Regions from separate parts of the Homo sapiens genome. Here all the other regions are linked to region 1. The links are contacts of gene promoters, found by promoter capture Hi-C in blood cells and fetal thymus (Javierre and others, 2016). All regions are on one chromosome and are shown on one strand. Each heading gives the region's core, a stretch centred on a gene start or on the middle of the fragment in contact. The rest is flanking DNA. Distances are from core to core; before and after follow the strand shown.

Region 1 (3,360 bases), core at 492-2,991:
AGGTAGATGATAAAATCAGGCCCATTTTACAGATGAGGACACAACCTGACCAACGGCCACGAGGATGTTGAGAGGGAGCGAGGTGTTCTGGCTGCAAGCCCCACCCCCACCCTCATTCATAATCAAAGCCCGCCTGGGTGCAGCCGGAACCCGGGGGAGCCTGGACGGGGCAAGCCCAGCAGGCCCAGCCTCTGCAGTGAGCTAGACTTGGGTTCCAATCCTGATAATGCCACCGTGAGTGACCCTAACCAATCCATTTCCCAAGGGGGGGCGGCACCAGAACCAGAGATGGAATTCAAGCAGACAAAAGCACAGTGTGAGCACTCGGGGAGGGAGTGGGGCAGGAAACCAAGGTCTAGGGCCAGGTGTTACACTGGGAGGTGGCCTATGTCTCAGCTGTTCCCAGGTGTCACCACTGGGGCCACCCAAGCACCAACTTGGTCACCCAGGTCCCCATGTCCTTGGTCAACTGCCAGGCGTACCCACACTGGGGCATCAGGAGAGGGGAAACGGGAGAGGCTGGAGCCACTCTCCATGCCCGGTCCCTCATATTTGGATATCAGAGCAAAGGATGCACCTGCTATCCTGGAAAAACCTCCTCATCCTCCACAGGGTGGGGTCTGTGTGCGTGGCAATGTAGGGGCGCATGGCACAGTCTGGGTCTGGGCCCAGGAACCCAGCTGGGGCTCTAGCCCTGACTACCTGTGCCTCCTTGGGCCTCAGTTTCCCCATCTAGGAACTGGGCTGGCTGATCTCAAAGTGCCCTCCGGTGGCCATTCTAGCATGGTTTCTTTATACAATCAATCACCTTTGATTACCACATTGATGGGGGGAGGACAGGTGACGAAAGCATTGCTATCACTGCTACAATTACTGAGATCCCACACTTAACTACAGGCAGACCAGATACCAGGCTCGGGGCTAAACGTTACTTGTGCCTCACAACCACTCGGCGCAACAGAGGTGCATGCACCCACATTACAGACAAGGTTAGTGAGACCCACAGAAGGGCAATCACTTTGCCCAAAGTCACACAGCTGAGGATGAAGAATGGAGAAGTGGCTGGGATAGAACACAGGCCTGTCTGATTCTGAGTCCTAGTTCCCAGCTGCAACCCTTTGCAGAGAATAGAAAACAACTGTCAACCGCCAAATGTGGCCAATTTGGCTCCAGAACCCAGGCACAGCCTTGGATCCCAGAGCCCCAACTGCCCAGACATCCCGGTGGGTGAGGGAGAAAGAGAGGAGAAGCCACCATCTCATCCAGGCCCCGGGCAGGAGCTGCAGTCCTTCTCTAGGTCTCTGTTCTGACACTAGGATCCTTCTCTCTCTACTTAGCTGTCCTGGGCTCACACCCTTTACCACGGAGCTGTCCAATACGGTAGCCTGGTGTGCAGAAAACCTCGGCTATCACTTCCTGTCATAGTGACCATTAGAAGATCACCCCAGGTCAGAGACAGGTGACCTTACAGAGAGATCAGAGCTGCCCCAGAAGGCCACGGGGGCTCAGGCGCAGATTTGGATAGAGGAAGCTATGTTAGTAGACACTCACCTTTCCAGGGTGGCTCTGTGTTTTCTTCACTCATATCCCTGTCTTTATATCACAACCCCATTTCTGGAGCGGGGAAACTGAGACAAGTTCCAACTTCTGAACTTGCCATCCAAACAGCGACTCCTAACTTTGCCCTACTCAGCTCCCTCGGCTGCAGCCTGGACTCCTCCACGCGCAGCTCCACGTGTGCCCAGCACCACTGCGCCTGCCCATCCCTCCCGGGCGCTCTTAAAGGGCCCACACCCCGTCCCACCCCCAACGTTGGCCGGAGAAGGTGGAGTCCAGCCAGCGCGATAGGTGAGAGCAAGGGACGAAAGGTTTTCTGTTTAAATTGCCACCATCACCAGCTCGCCAGCGAGTGGCAGGGGGAGGGGAGGAGGCAAGAAAACGGAACTTAGTATCCCACTGACTCCACGTGTGACCCTGGGTGACTTGTGTGCCTCTCTGAGCCTCAATTTCCAGATCTGTTGAAGGAAGTGGTGGCACCTGGAGGAGTGAGGTGGCATCAGGTGATGTGTGGTCAGGATGATAGGGCAGATTCGTCCTGTAAGAGGACCCCTCTGAGTGCTGTGGGATGTAGTTGTCTGAGGGTCAGAACTCGTTCCATCCTGAGGCTGTGTGCAGGTGTGTGTGACCTCAGGCAAGTGATCACTCCTGAGTCATCTATTTCCCAACTGTAAAATGAGGCTCCAACGGGGAGCTGTGGCTCATACCTGTAATCCCAGCACTTTGGGAAGCAAAGGCTGGAGGATCACTTGAGCCCAGGAGTTCAAGACCAGCTTGGGCAGTATCACGAGACCCCTATCTGTACAAACAATTTTAAGATTAGCTGGGTGTAGTGTGTGCCTGTAGTCCCAGATACTCAGAAGGCTGAGGTGGGAGGATCACTTGAGCCCAGGAGGTCAAGGCTGCAGTGAGCCATGATCGCACCACTGCACTACAGCCTGGGCAACAGAACAAGACCTCGTCTCATAAAATAAAATGAGGCTAATATTTTAATGTATGTACCATGTGAGGTTTAACTTAGGAGACAGGTGGTCAAATCCCCTGGGTAGCACAGAGCCATTAGGTAAAAGACATATAACAAAGGTGGAGTATTCCCATCCTTGCCTAGTGCAGCTGACTTCCAAGTCACCTTGGAAAGTGGGTTTCCCAGTCAAAAGAGTTTGAGAAACAGATGCCTATCCCGGCTCTTGGAGATACACAAATCGCATTAACATATTAAAGATGCTAACAGATCCTGCAGGCAAGATTCCCTTTTAACTTCTTTGCAGTGGCACAGTCTCGGCTCACTGTAACCTCTGCCTTCCAGGTTCAAGTGGTTCTCCTGCCTCAGCCTCCTGATTAGCTGGGATTACAGGCATGCTCCACTACACCTGGCTAATTTTTGTATTTTTAGTAGAGATGGGGTTTTGCCATGTTGACCAGGCTGGTCTCAAACTCCTGACCTCAAGTGATCTGCCTGCCTTGAAGGCCTCCCAAAGTGCTGGGATTACAGGCATGAGCCACCACGCCCAGCCCCCTTTTAGCTTTAACCCAGCATTTCCCTAACTTTTTTGACCACCTAAGTTTTTGTTTCCACCTATTTACACCCCATGGAACAAACAAGACTTCAGGAAATGCTGAGTCCTGCCTCTTGTATTGCAATTGGGGAAACTGGGTAAGTCCTTTCTCCTCTCTGGACCTCAGTTTCCCCAATTACACTGCAAGGACTCATAATGAGTTTGTGGCAGAGCAAGGACTGGAACCCAACCCTGACCTGGGTGGCTGGGTCTCATTTCTAGTACGCCCTAACTGGTCCTGTCCCTC
Region 2 (3,360 bases), core at 579-3,078, 230 kb before region 1:
GCTGGGCTTCGCTCAGCCCCTGGTGTGCAGGCTCCCTGTGTGCCCACACCCCAGCTATTCCCGAGCTTCCATTATGCACTGGGGGCAGCAGCTCCTCCACCCGGGGACCAGCAGTTGCAGTTCCATCATGCTTTTCTTACCGTGACAGTCCAAGTGTTTTCTGAGCTGTAGGGAGACTCAAAGCCTTGGGCATACTGGGATGGGGTCTGTGTCAGCTTATAGACCTTCCACCGAGAGAGCCAGCCTGCTGGAGCCCACCAGCAACGACAGAGAAACCTCTCTGAAGATGTGCCCTGCCTCCTTGACCCCAGAGAATCCTGCAGAGGAAGCTGAAAGCGTTCATTCTGCTGCCGAAGTCTTCTGCTCCTTGGCTGCCCCAGGCCCTGAGTCTGCCTAGATGTATGTGCAGGGTTTGGGTGGGGGATTTTTGGTTTTTGTTTGTTTGTTTTTTGAGACAGGGTCTTGCTGTGTTGCCCAGGCTGGATCAAGATTGCCCAGGCGCAATCTTGGTTCACTACAACCTCCGCCTCCGAGGCTCAAGCAATCCTCCCACCTCAGCCTCCCAGGTAGCTGGGACCACAAGTGTGCATCACCACAACCGGCTAGTTTATTTTGTATTTTTTATAGAAACAGGGTTTTGCCATATTGCCCACGCTGGTCTTGAACTCCTGGGCTCAAGCAATCCACCTGCCTTGGTCTCCCAAAGTTCTGGGATTACAGGCATGAGCCATTCACTGCACCGGGCCCCCTATGTGCAGGGTTACCAGTCAGGCTGCCTTCTCCAAATGCTTCTAAATCTGGTTTTTATGGGGCCATGGCAGTGGCCACTGAGTAAAGGAAGACACTTGTCGGAATGGCACATGGATGTTTAAAAAACTCAGTGTTCTGGAAACCCAGTGTCCTTGGCCTTCAGACCACGGGCATGTGAAAGAGAAGCTATTGTGAAGTCATTCTGGCCCTTCCAGGACTGCCCCTCACACAGAGTCCTAAACTAGCCTGCCTTATGCTGGGGAGGGACAAGTTATTTTACAACAAGAACATTGTAGCCAGAACTTGTGTGTTGTAGCCAGAACTTGTGCTGTTGCAAAGAGCAGAAGCTGGCAGACCAGCTCAGAGCCAGAGCAGGTGGTGAGGAGGTATGAGAGCGGCTCTGGGACCCACGCAAGAAGTGCGGTGGGCGGGAGCTGAGGTGGTCCTCTCCTCCTCTTGGGCCACATGAGCCCTTCTCTGCACGTCTCTGGCTCCAGCGTCCCCATGAACTGCCTCTGAGTCCACCATCCTTGCAGCTATGCAGCCTTGCGCTCCTGGGGCCTCTAGCCAAACCACTGCTGCATCCCTCAGACCATGTTCCAGCGTGGTCCACCTGCCTGCGGCTGAGTGGCCTTCAGCTAGGGTCCCCTCACTAGTCTGGTCAGCTCTGATGAGACAGGCTAGGATCCTGCAGGCAGCAGGGGCTGTAGACACAGCAGTTCCCAGATAAAGAGGCCGCAGAAGACCAAGCAGTGACCCAGGCCGGTGACGGGCAATGTGGACTAGTGGTCAAGGGCACAGGCCTTGACCTTGGACCTGTACTTGAGCTCGGATCACCACACCCACCCTCAGTGACTTGAGAGTAGGCAGCATTTCACTTCTCGGAGATTCATTTTCCCCAGCTGTAAAGTAGTGAATAACAGTTCCTGCCTGCCATGAGGATTAAACGAGGTCACATCTGTTAAGCACCTGGCAAATTATAGTTGCCCAGTAAATGCTATCTCCCCTTCTTCCTTGGCCTTGGGGCCAGGCAGGGTGGAGTATTGGGTCAGAAGGTAACTCTCATTGCTGTTCTAAAACAATTCCATTGGCTCCTATATTGGTTTCCCATGGCTGCTGCAACAAATCACAACAAGCCGGGTGGCTTAAAACAACGGAAATGTATTCTCCTCGGACAGTTCTGGCCAGAAGCCTGAAATCAAGGTGCCCACAGGCAGCACTCCCTCTGGAGGCTCTGGGGAGAAGCCTGCCCTGCCTCTTCTAGCTTCTGGTGGCCCCTGCGTGCTTGGCTGTAACTGTATCACTCCCATCTCTGCCTCCATCCCCATATAGTCTTCCCTCTAGGGCTTCCTCTTTCTCCTTCTCTTAGAAGGACTTGTCCTTGAATTAGGACCCACCCTCACCCAAGATGATCTCATCTTGTGGTCCTTACCTTAATTACATCTACAAAGACCTGTTTCCAAAAAAGGTCCCATGCACAGGTTCTGGGGGTTAGCACTTGGACAGATTGTTCAGGGGGACACCATTCAACCCACTACAACTGTCTTCCAGAGCAAGTGTGGCAGGAGGTGATTCTTCATGCCATGAACCACCACATGCTCACAGATCCTAAACAATCTCATAGGGTGAGGGGGTGAAAAGGAGAATTGCTTATTCAAGGACGGGAAATATTTGGCGCCTGTGTCATCACTGCCTCCTCCTCACCCATGGCAGACATTACTAATTGATTCCTGCACTGTGTCTTCATGTGCTGCTTTCAGCAGTCCATGGGTATGGGCCTGGGAAGCTAAACCTGTTTGCCATTTCCTGGCTTATGTCTTGTCTCAAAAGTGTAGTAGAAATAATAATAGTCATAATTAACATTTACTCAGGTGCCAGCCACTTTTTCTTGGAATATGTCACCAAATCCTCTCAATAGCTCTGAGATCATACTATTAATCCCGTCCTCAAGATGGTGTATGGGTTGAATTCTGTCCCAAAAAAGATGCATCCTAACCCCCACTACCTCAGCATGTGGCCTTATTTGGAAATAGGGTTGTTGTAGATGTAACTAGTTCAGATGAGGTCATATAGGAGTAGGGTGGGACCCTAATCCGATGTGACTGGTGTCCTTACAGAAAGAGAGGACTCGGCCATGTGAAGACAGAGGCAGAGACTCAAGTGGGGAACCTTCAGGCCAAGGAACGCAGGGACTTCCAGCCATCACCCATAGCCAGGAGAGAGGCTAGGAACAGATTCTCCTTCACAGCCTGGAGAGGAACCAACCCTGTGAATCTCTTGATTTCAGACTTAACAGCTTCTAGAATTGTGAGAGGATGAATGTCTGCTGCTTAAGTCCCCGAGTTTATGGTGCTTTGTTCCGTCAGCCACAGGAAACTAGTATAGATTTTGAGACCAGACAGATTTGTCACACACCCAAGGTCACATGTTTGGAAGAGGTCAAACCAGGATTTGAACTTGGGCTGGTGGGCATCACAGGAACCGGCAGCTGCTGCTCAGCCCCAGCAGCTGGCCGCCCTGCCCAGGCTAGATACCATGTGGCCAGGCTCCCCACTTTTCAAAAGAAGCCACAAATTCCAATGTCTGTGAAATCTCCAGATTTAAAAATTG
Region 3 (3,360 bases), core at 413-2,912, 220 kb before region 1:
GGCTGAATGGAGTTCGCCAGGCATTTCAGCCCTGAAACTGGACAAGAGCCTGCCCTTCCAAAGTCATTTCCTGCAATTAGCAGCCTGCAGTCTTTAGGTTCTTGGGGCTGCCTCTTCTGCCCTTCATAAATATTGCCTTTCCCAAGGACACTGCTGGCACTGGCAGTGTCGTTTCATAGCAGGAGGGAGCAGCAGTGACAACTGAAATAAATACAGCCGTGGCACCGATCTCAGAGGCATAAGCCAGCCAAGTGCAACATCGGAGAAATCAGTCTGGTGGATGTCAGCCTTGCTGGAAACTGACAACCTCATTTTCTCAAGCTGAAGATGCTGCACCGCAGACCCTTGACTCAGTCCAACCAGACAGGGAATGTTCACCTTCAAGTGGTAGTGTTGTTCTCATCAGCATCTCCATCCCTTTCAGAGGGGGTCCTCTAAGCTGCACCCCCATCACACACACTTCAATCTAAGCCAGGAGTTTCTGAGCCTCGCCTGTCAATCTGCAGCTATCCTTCCCCCACACTTTGGCGGTGATGGGTGGCTCAGAGGTGACTAAACTTCCAAATCTTGTCCGCCTTCCCCTTTACAAATGTGACATTTAAAGCACCTTTGGCACAGGTAAATCACAATTACATTTTCAAGGGCCTCTGGTCCCATTCCAAATCTGTGAACAACCTGAGCTGGCAGTGGGAGGGCTCTCTCTCACACACACACACACACACACACACACACACACACACACACACACGGCTCCAGCCTTTCCAACTTTTATTCCTTTTCCGCACAGCTCCTTCTCATTGCAGCAATCACTTTACCTGTCTTTCCTGCAATGCCAATTCATTCCCACATCCCTCCAAGACCCAGGAGAGCTTGGGGAAGCAGGGTCAGGGACAGAATCCCCAAAGGGTCACAGTCCCTTGAGGAAGGTGGCAAGAGGTGTAGATCAAAGCTGAGCTGGGACAAAAGGCTGCTTTGAGCCTCTCTGGGTGAGCTCTTCAGGAACCAGGACCCCAGAAGGGCAAGCTCCTCTCTCCACGGCCATCGCCATGGAGGGATCCTCCAAGCTCCCACTTTCTGTGATTTCAGAGTCCCTCAGACTCGGCCGATGGGTCATTTTTCATGTATATTTTCTCTTGATTCCCCTCCTTCATGGCTGCATATCTGGCTAGCGTGAAGAGATAGTCACTGAGTCTGGAGGGGCAGAGAGAGAGAAGCAAACAGAATGGTTTGAAATGAGAGATCAACGCTAACTGGGTCTTCCCATATCCGCCTACAAGGAGGAGATATAAATGACGCACTCTGGGCACATTGTGCAGGGAGGGCGGGGGCCCAGCCATCTTGCACTTAATGGATGGCACACGAGGCCAGCTGCTGTGAATGCCAAGGACTCTACTCCAGTGTCAAGGCTGGGGCCATTCCTGCAGGATGAGGCCATTGCCCCGGCCCTACCCCATGGGGCAGATGACTTTGGACTCCTCTCTGAGCCGGTTTTTGCACCTTTGAGTGATCAGGGCTCAGGTGCGTGATCAGTTTGGGTGTTTCCCAAACTACAGTGTGCACAGGCATCACCAGGGGATCTCAGCGACGTGCAGATTCTGACTCAGGAGGGCTGGGCTGGGCTGGGCCCGGGGCTCTGCAGGTCTAGTTCCTGCCCTGGCTGATGCTGACACTGCTGGACTAGGCCCTACTGACATTCTGGATCATTCTGTGTGTTCGGGGCTGTCCTGTGCATCCTGTGCAGTGTAGGATGCTGACAGCACCTTTGGTCTCCACCCACCAGGTGCCAGTGGCACCCCTGCACCCAGTGTGACAACTAGTAATGCCTCCAAACATCGCCAAAGGTACCGGGTGAGAAGCACAGGCTGGAGCACTCTAGAGACCAGAGCCCAGCCCCTTTCCCGCCTCCTCCTTTGAACCAACAGCAATGGTCATCTGTGCATGAGGCCTTCTGCAGGGGCAGCAGTGGAGGGAACTAGAGGACGACGCCACGGGCCCCAGAAGGCGCTTACGCTGTCAGCTCTTCTGCCTTCTGCTGTCCGCACCTTTTGCTGTTTCACTCCCAGCACGAGGCACCACGTTCCTCCCTCTCTCTCTGCCCCAGTCTTGCCCTCAGAGGCCAGCTCCACACCACATCCTCCTGAGTCCTCCCCTGACTCAGGCCCCCTGGGCCCCACGGCTGGCTCTCAGGAAGAGCGAAGGGGAGGTTGTTCAGGGTATTTTACCCCTGGGCCGCATGCTCCTGGAGGGCAGTGGTGTGCCTGTTGCTTGTTGGCTCTGTGAAGCCTCACTGAGGAGATGAAATGGCCTGTCCCGTGCAATGCTATGGGACCGCAGGGTTGCTGCTTTGAAGGTGAAGTAGACCTGCTCCTCACTCCCGGCGAAACCCCCCTCCCAGAAGGAAAGGAGCTGCTCAGGACCCGTCAAAGCGCCATGTCTCTGGGAGGAGTGGCCACAGTCAAGGGCCTGAGGTCACTTTCTAGACACCCAGGACAGCTCCTGGGGTGCAGACCTGCTCCCCCAGCTCTCTACCTGCCCCCAGGCTCTGGCCTTGCCCACACTGATGCCACAGAAGCCAGGGCTGGGGCAGGAACCCGCAGAGCAGGCTTTGGGCCAGGTGTGGCTCCAGCCTCATGGGCCGGCCGCGAGGCAGAGGAAGCCCTCCCTGGGCTAGCCTGGCTCACTGGGGCCTGCATGGGGTCCCCTGAGCGCAGCTTGGCCCGGCTCTCTTGTTGGTTCATGCTGCCGCAGGCCCTCTCGGGGACAGGAAACTGGCTGAGAGAGGGCCTGAAGCCTGGCTCCCTGGTCAGTCACCACCGAGAGGCCTCCCCTGAGCACCCAGCCTCTAAGAACGCCCTTTGCCCCCGCAATGCCACTTTGCACTTAGGTTTTTCTTCCTGGTTTTTACAGCAGCCTCTCCCAATAAGATCTAAATCTTATCGGGACAGGCACAGGGCCCACCTTGTTCACCACTGCCTCCCCTGTGCCCGGCGTGGTGCCTGGCACAGAGCAGATGTTCATAAACACTAAGGGAATGAAGGAGGGGGTGCGGGAATGCTGCCCCACACTGCTTCCCGGACCGCTGCACCGCTGCTACTTCCCACAGATGAGCCTCGGCTTTCAGAGAGGAACCCCCAGGTTCCACGCGAGTACCTGTTTAAGAACTTGGCCACGTTCGCATCGGTCTCTCCCATCTGGACAAGAGGCACCACACTAGAAAGGGAGGAGACACTGAGTCACGTGACATTATGGGGCTCAACAGGCTCTGACCTGGGCCTAAACCTTGAGCAGCATTTCACATCCTGCCACCGCTCAACCTGAACCTGCACAGGCTCGGCCGGCAGTGGAGATGACAAATCCATC
Region 4 (3,360 bases), core at 433-2,932, 150 kb before region 1:
CCAATGGTAAAAGGGAAAAGCCTACCACAGCCCTTCTTCCCAGAAATTTGGAGAAGCGTTTTATGGGAGGAGTCTTCTGGGTGGCAGTGGGCAAGAGGGGGTCTTCACCAGGCAGAGACTTCACCCCATGTTGCAGACCCTGAGTCCCATGAGGCCTCACCTTGCCCATGAGAAGAATCTCACTTCACGCCCAGCACTCCTGAAACAGAGCTCCTTGGGAGTTGCAAGGATGTCAGACACGCCTGGGTTTGCCAATTTCCAACTTATTTGCTTATGCCCTGGATGTAGCGGCTTCACCTCTCTGAGATGAAATGACACCGCATCAGCAGCGTCCCCAGCACGGTGCTTGATGTGTAGTGGGGGCTCACAAAGCACTCCCTCCCTCCCTTTTCCACCTTCTTTCTAATAAGCCACCCGTACCACCAGCCATTTGTCTAATAGTGATTGGGCTCCTGCCACGTGCCAGGCCTGCACCGGGCCCCGGCCCAAGCTGCTGCAGAACTGAGAATCATTTGTCCTGCAACAAACACTGTCTGAGCATCTCCTCCGAGCCAGACTCTGGGGACACAGCGGCCACAAGACAGCTCTGGCCCCTGCTCCTGTGAGGTCCACGGTGTCTCAGGGAAGCAGACTGGAAGCTGGAGTTTGGGTGTTTGGGGTTTTAATGGGGTGTTGGGAGGGCCTGGATGCCAGTCAGCAGCATCCATCAAGGAAAGAACCCCTCCAGTATTCTCAGCCTGACATCTGGGAAGGAGTCCTAGATGGGGTTCTCAGTGTGCAAGACCCCAGCACACAAGTCCAAGCAGCCCTCAAATCCTGGGCCTGGAGGGGTCTGGGAGGGCTGGACCACTCAGGTACTTTCCCTCCACTCACCCCCAGGACCACCGCCCACCACCTCACCTCCCACCAGGACCTGAGGGCGCTGGCCTGCTGCCCCCTGGCCACTCCCTGGCCCAGGTCAGCCGCCTGCCCCTGCTCTATTCATCAAGGGCATGACAACTGAAATTCATTTGAAGATGAAGAAAGTGCCCGCTAATCCATTCTGCAAGACATTGATAGACTAGCAGCTCAGGGAGAATTGCACGGCAGTAATGAAATTAGGCTAAAACTGCTGGCGGATTGCAGATAATTGCCCTTGTCTGTCACTAGGAATAACATCTCCCAAATCCAACACAATGATTGTTCAAGTTGCAGGAATTTCTTTTCTTTTCCTTTTTTTTTTTTTTTTAAAGGCAGGAGAGGCAAGGCCAATCTGGGTCTTGGAAGCTTTGCCTGGGCAGCAGCCTGGGGTGTGGGAAGTGGGCATCTGTATACTCACCACCTCCCCTGCCCAGCCTCAGCCAGTAGGGATGGGGGTACAGGGCAGGAGGAGGAGGTCAGGACATTTTTCCCTGGATGCCCTCCACTCGCATATTCTAGCCAGTAAGGTCCTGGGTGGAAAGCAGAGAGGGAGCAGGGAATCTTGGGGAGTGGGGCCTAAGCAGTGACAGCTCTGGATTTGTTTTAGTTTTTGTTTTGAGACAGGGTGTCACTCTGTCACCCAGGTTGGAGTGCAGTGGTGCGATCATAGCTCCCAGCAGCCTCGAACTCCTGGGGCCAAAGCGGTCCTCCTGCCTCAGCCTCCCAAGTGGCTGGGACTACAGACACATGCCACCAGACCGAATTGACAGCTCTGGATTTTTATGAGATTGAGTCTGCCTGGAAGAAGAGTCATAAAGTCACACTTCCATTATGTTGAGGCAACATCCATTCCGCACATAAGAGAATGGACTGAGGCGGGGCAGCTCAAGCCCCACTAAGCCACTCCCCAAGGCTGCTATGGGGTCTAGATTCTCAGAGAGGAAAGTTCTGAGAAGGGACTCTTTATGGACTCAGTGGTTTCCTAGGCTGTTGGCGTGATCGGCGCATAGCTGGCTGTAGTTAATGCTGCCTGAGTGAATGACGTCAGAGAGCATTCAATGTCAGCAACAGCATGTTTGAATGTCAGCATGATGGGCTTGTCACGTGTTAGCATTATGGCATGTGTGCATGTCATCGGATGATGTCATAGAAGATTTGAATGTCAACATCGTGCTATGTTCCAATGTCAGCAGCCCAGAAAGCTTGACTGTCCTTCTCCTAGGTGGTTGGAGTGTCAACATCATGTTTTAGCACAGGCAGATAATTGACTCAGAGAACGGGGAGCTGTAAGGAGTGCTAGGGATTGGTCCAAACTTCACTTGACAGATGAGGAAATGGAGGCCCAGAGAAGTTAAGTGATTTGCCCAAGGTCACACAGCAAGAAGGATCCTAAATGTAAGCTTCATCAGTGTCACAGTTTGGGCTAGGTCAGCCCTTGGAGAACTTGTAACCCTTTCTCTCCACCAGGTCCCTCTGGTCCCAGTCCCCCTGGGGTGCTGGTTCCTGGTCCTCAGTTCTTGGGAATATGCCCATGCTCTGAAATTGATTGCAGGAATTCCCAGAATCCTTTGGCCTGCTAACCATGGGTTAGTCAATTTCGCTCATCAGCCCCAGCCATGGAAGGAGTCACGCTTTCTCTATCCTCATTCCTTTTGATCAAAAGGAGTCTGTTGAGGGCTTCTTATGGCCAAGGAAGGGTGCTGAGAATGAGATGAGGCCATGAGGAAGATGGCAGAGTGGACTGGAGCCGTAGAGGAGGGAGATGTGATCCCCATTGAGGGCTTATGTTTGGGAAGTCTTCAGGAAGAAGTTGACTTTTGAAGGGGGTTTTGAAGGAGCCGAAAGGTTTTCACCTGGAGCCTCAGCCAGAGTTGGAATTGGGAGAGGGGCTAGGTATGGGGATAGAAGACATTTGCCCCCAAAATGGGGAAGAGGCCCAGATAATGGGGGTAGAGGTGGTGGTACAGTACCCGATGATGTAGGGCCATTTATTATGGTCTTTCTTTTCATCAGATTTCATCCACAACCTCCAATACCCCTGGCAGCCCTGGAAGAATCAGTGATTGTCAAAGTGTGATCCACAGACCTCTGCGGGTCCCCAAGACTCTTTCAGGGTTTCTGGGAGGTCAAAACTGTTTTCATCATAACGCAAAGATGTCCTTTCATCAAAGTACTTGCCAGGCCTGACCCTACGTAGCTTTGGAGATGCAGACAAAATTGGGCACATTCAGGGTAGCACGGCTACAGACAATACAAAGATATTATTGGCCTTTTTCACCATGTTGACATTTGCACTCAGGGTGCAAAAGTCATGGGTGGCTACAACTGCTGGTTTCGTAGCATCGACCAGAGCAGTGGAACCACACTGGGAGAGAAATCATCTCTTTCTTCATCTTAAATACTCTTGGCAAAAAAGCCAGTTTCACTTAAGAATGCCCTTGATGAAAATTTAAAGGGTCT

Evidence for each region. The method cuts DNA at HindIII sites, captures the fragments that hold promoters and counts their contacts. A CHiCAGO score of 5 or more calls a contact.
Region 2: a fragment that was not itself captured here is called in contact with the fragment with the promoter of FAM222A-AS1 in region 1 in 1 of 17 cell types (M1 macrophages); the score reaches 5.4 in M1 macrophages.
Region 3: a fragment that was not itself captured here is called in contact with the fragment with the promoter of FAM222A-AS1 in region 1 in 3 of 17 cell types (M2 macrophages, M0 macrophages and M1 macrophages); the score reaches 7.9 in M2 macrophages.
Region 4: a contact is called between a fragment that was not itself captured here and the fragment with the promoter of FAM222A-AS1 in region 1, in 3 of 17 cell types (M1 macrophages, M0 macrophages and M2 macrophages). The highest score is 6.5, in M1 macrophages.

Annotation. Positions count from the first base shown.
Region 1 is chr12:109,771,746-109,775,105 of GRCh38, forward strand. It overlaps FAM222A-AS1 (FAM222A antisense RNA 1), which reads right to left and starts at 1,742. Exons shown (of 3, transcript NR_026662.2): 1 at 1,552-1,742. RefSeq lists an enhancer at 331-830. The HindIII fragment of the contact is 7,576 bases long and covers 1-3,360 here.
Region 2 is chr12:109,539,769-109,543,128 of GRCh38, forward strand. It overlaps a transcript of UBE3B not described here. Among named protein-coding and RNA genes, the nearest start is that of MMAB, 32 kb to the right of the region's middle. RefSeq lists an enhancer at 1,342-1,904. The HindIII fragment of the contact is 5,869 bases long and covers 1-3,360 here.
Region 3 is chr12:109,555,946-109,559,305 of GRCh38, forward strand. It overlaps MMAB (metabolism of cobalamin associated B), which reads right to left. Exons shown (of 9, transcript NM_052845.4): 8 at 3,151-3,210; 9 at 1-1,191. The coding sequence ends at 1,083. Among named protein-coding and RNA genes, the nearest start is that of MMAB, 16 kb to the right of the region's middle. RefSeq lists an enhancer at 1,693-2,194. The HindIII fragment of the contact is 5,041 bases long and covers 1-3,360 here.
Region 4 is chr12:109,617,183-109,620,542 of GRCh38, forward strand. No RefSeq gene overlaps it. Among named protein-coding and RNA genes, the nearest start is that of MVK, 45 kb to the left of the region's middle. The HindIII fragment of the contact is 836 bases long and covers 1,265-2,100 here.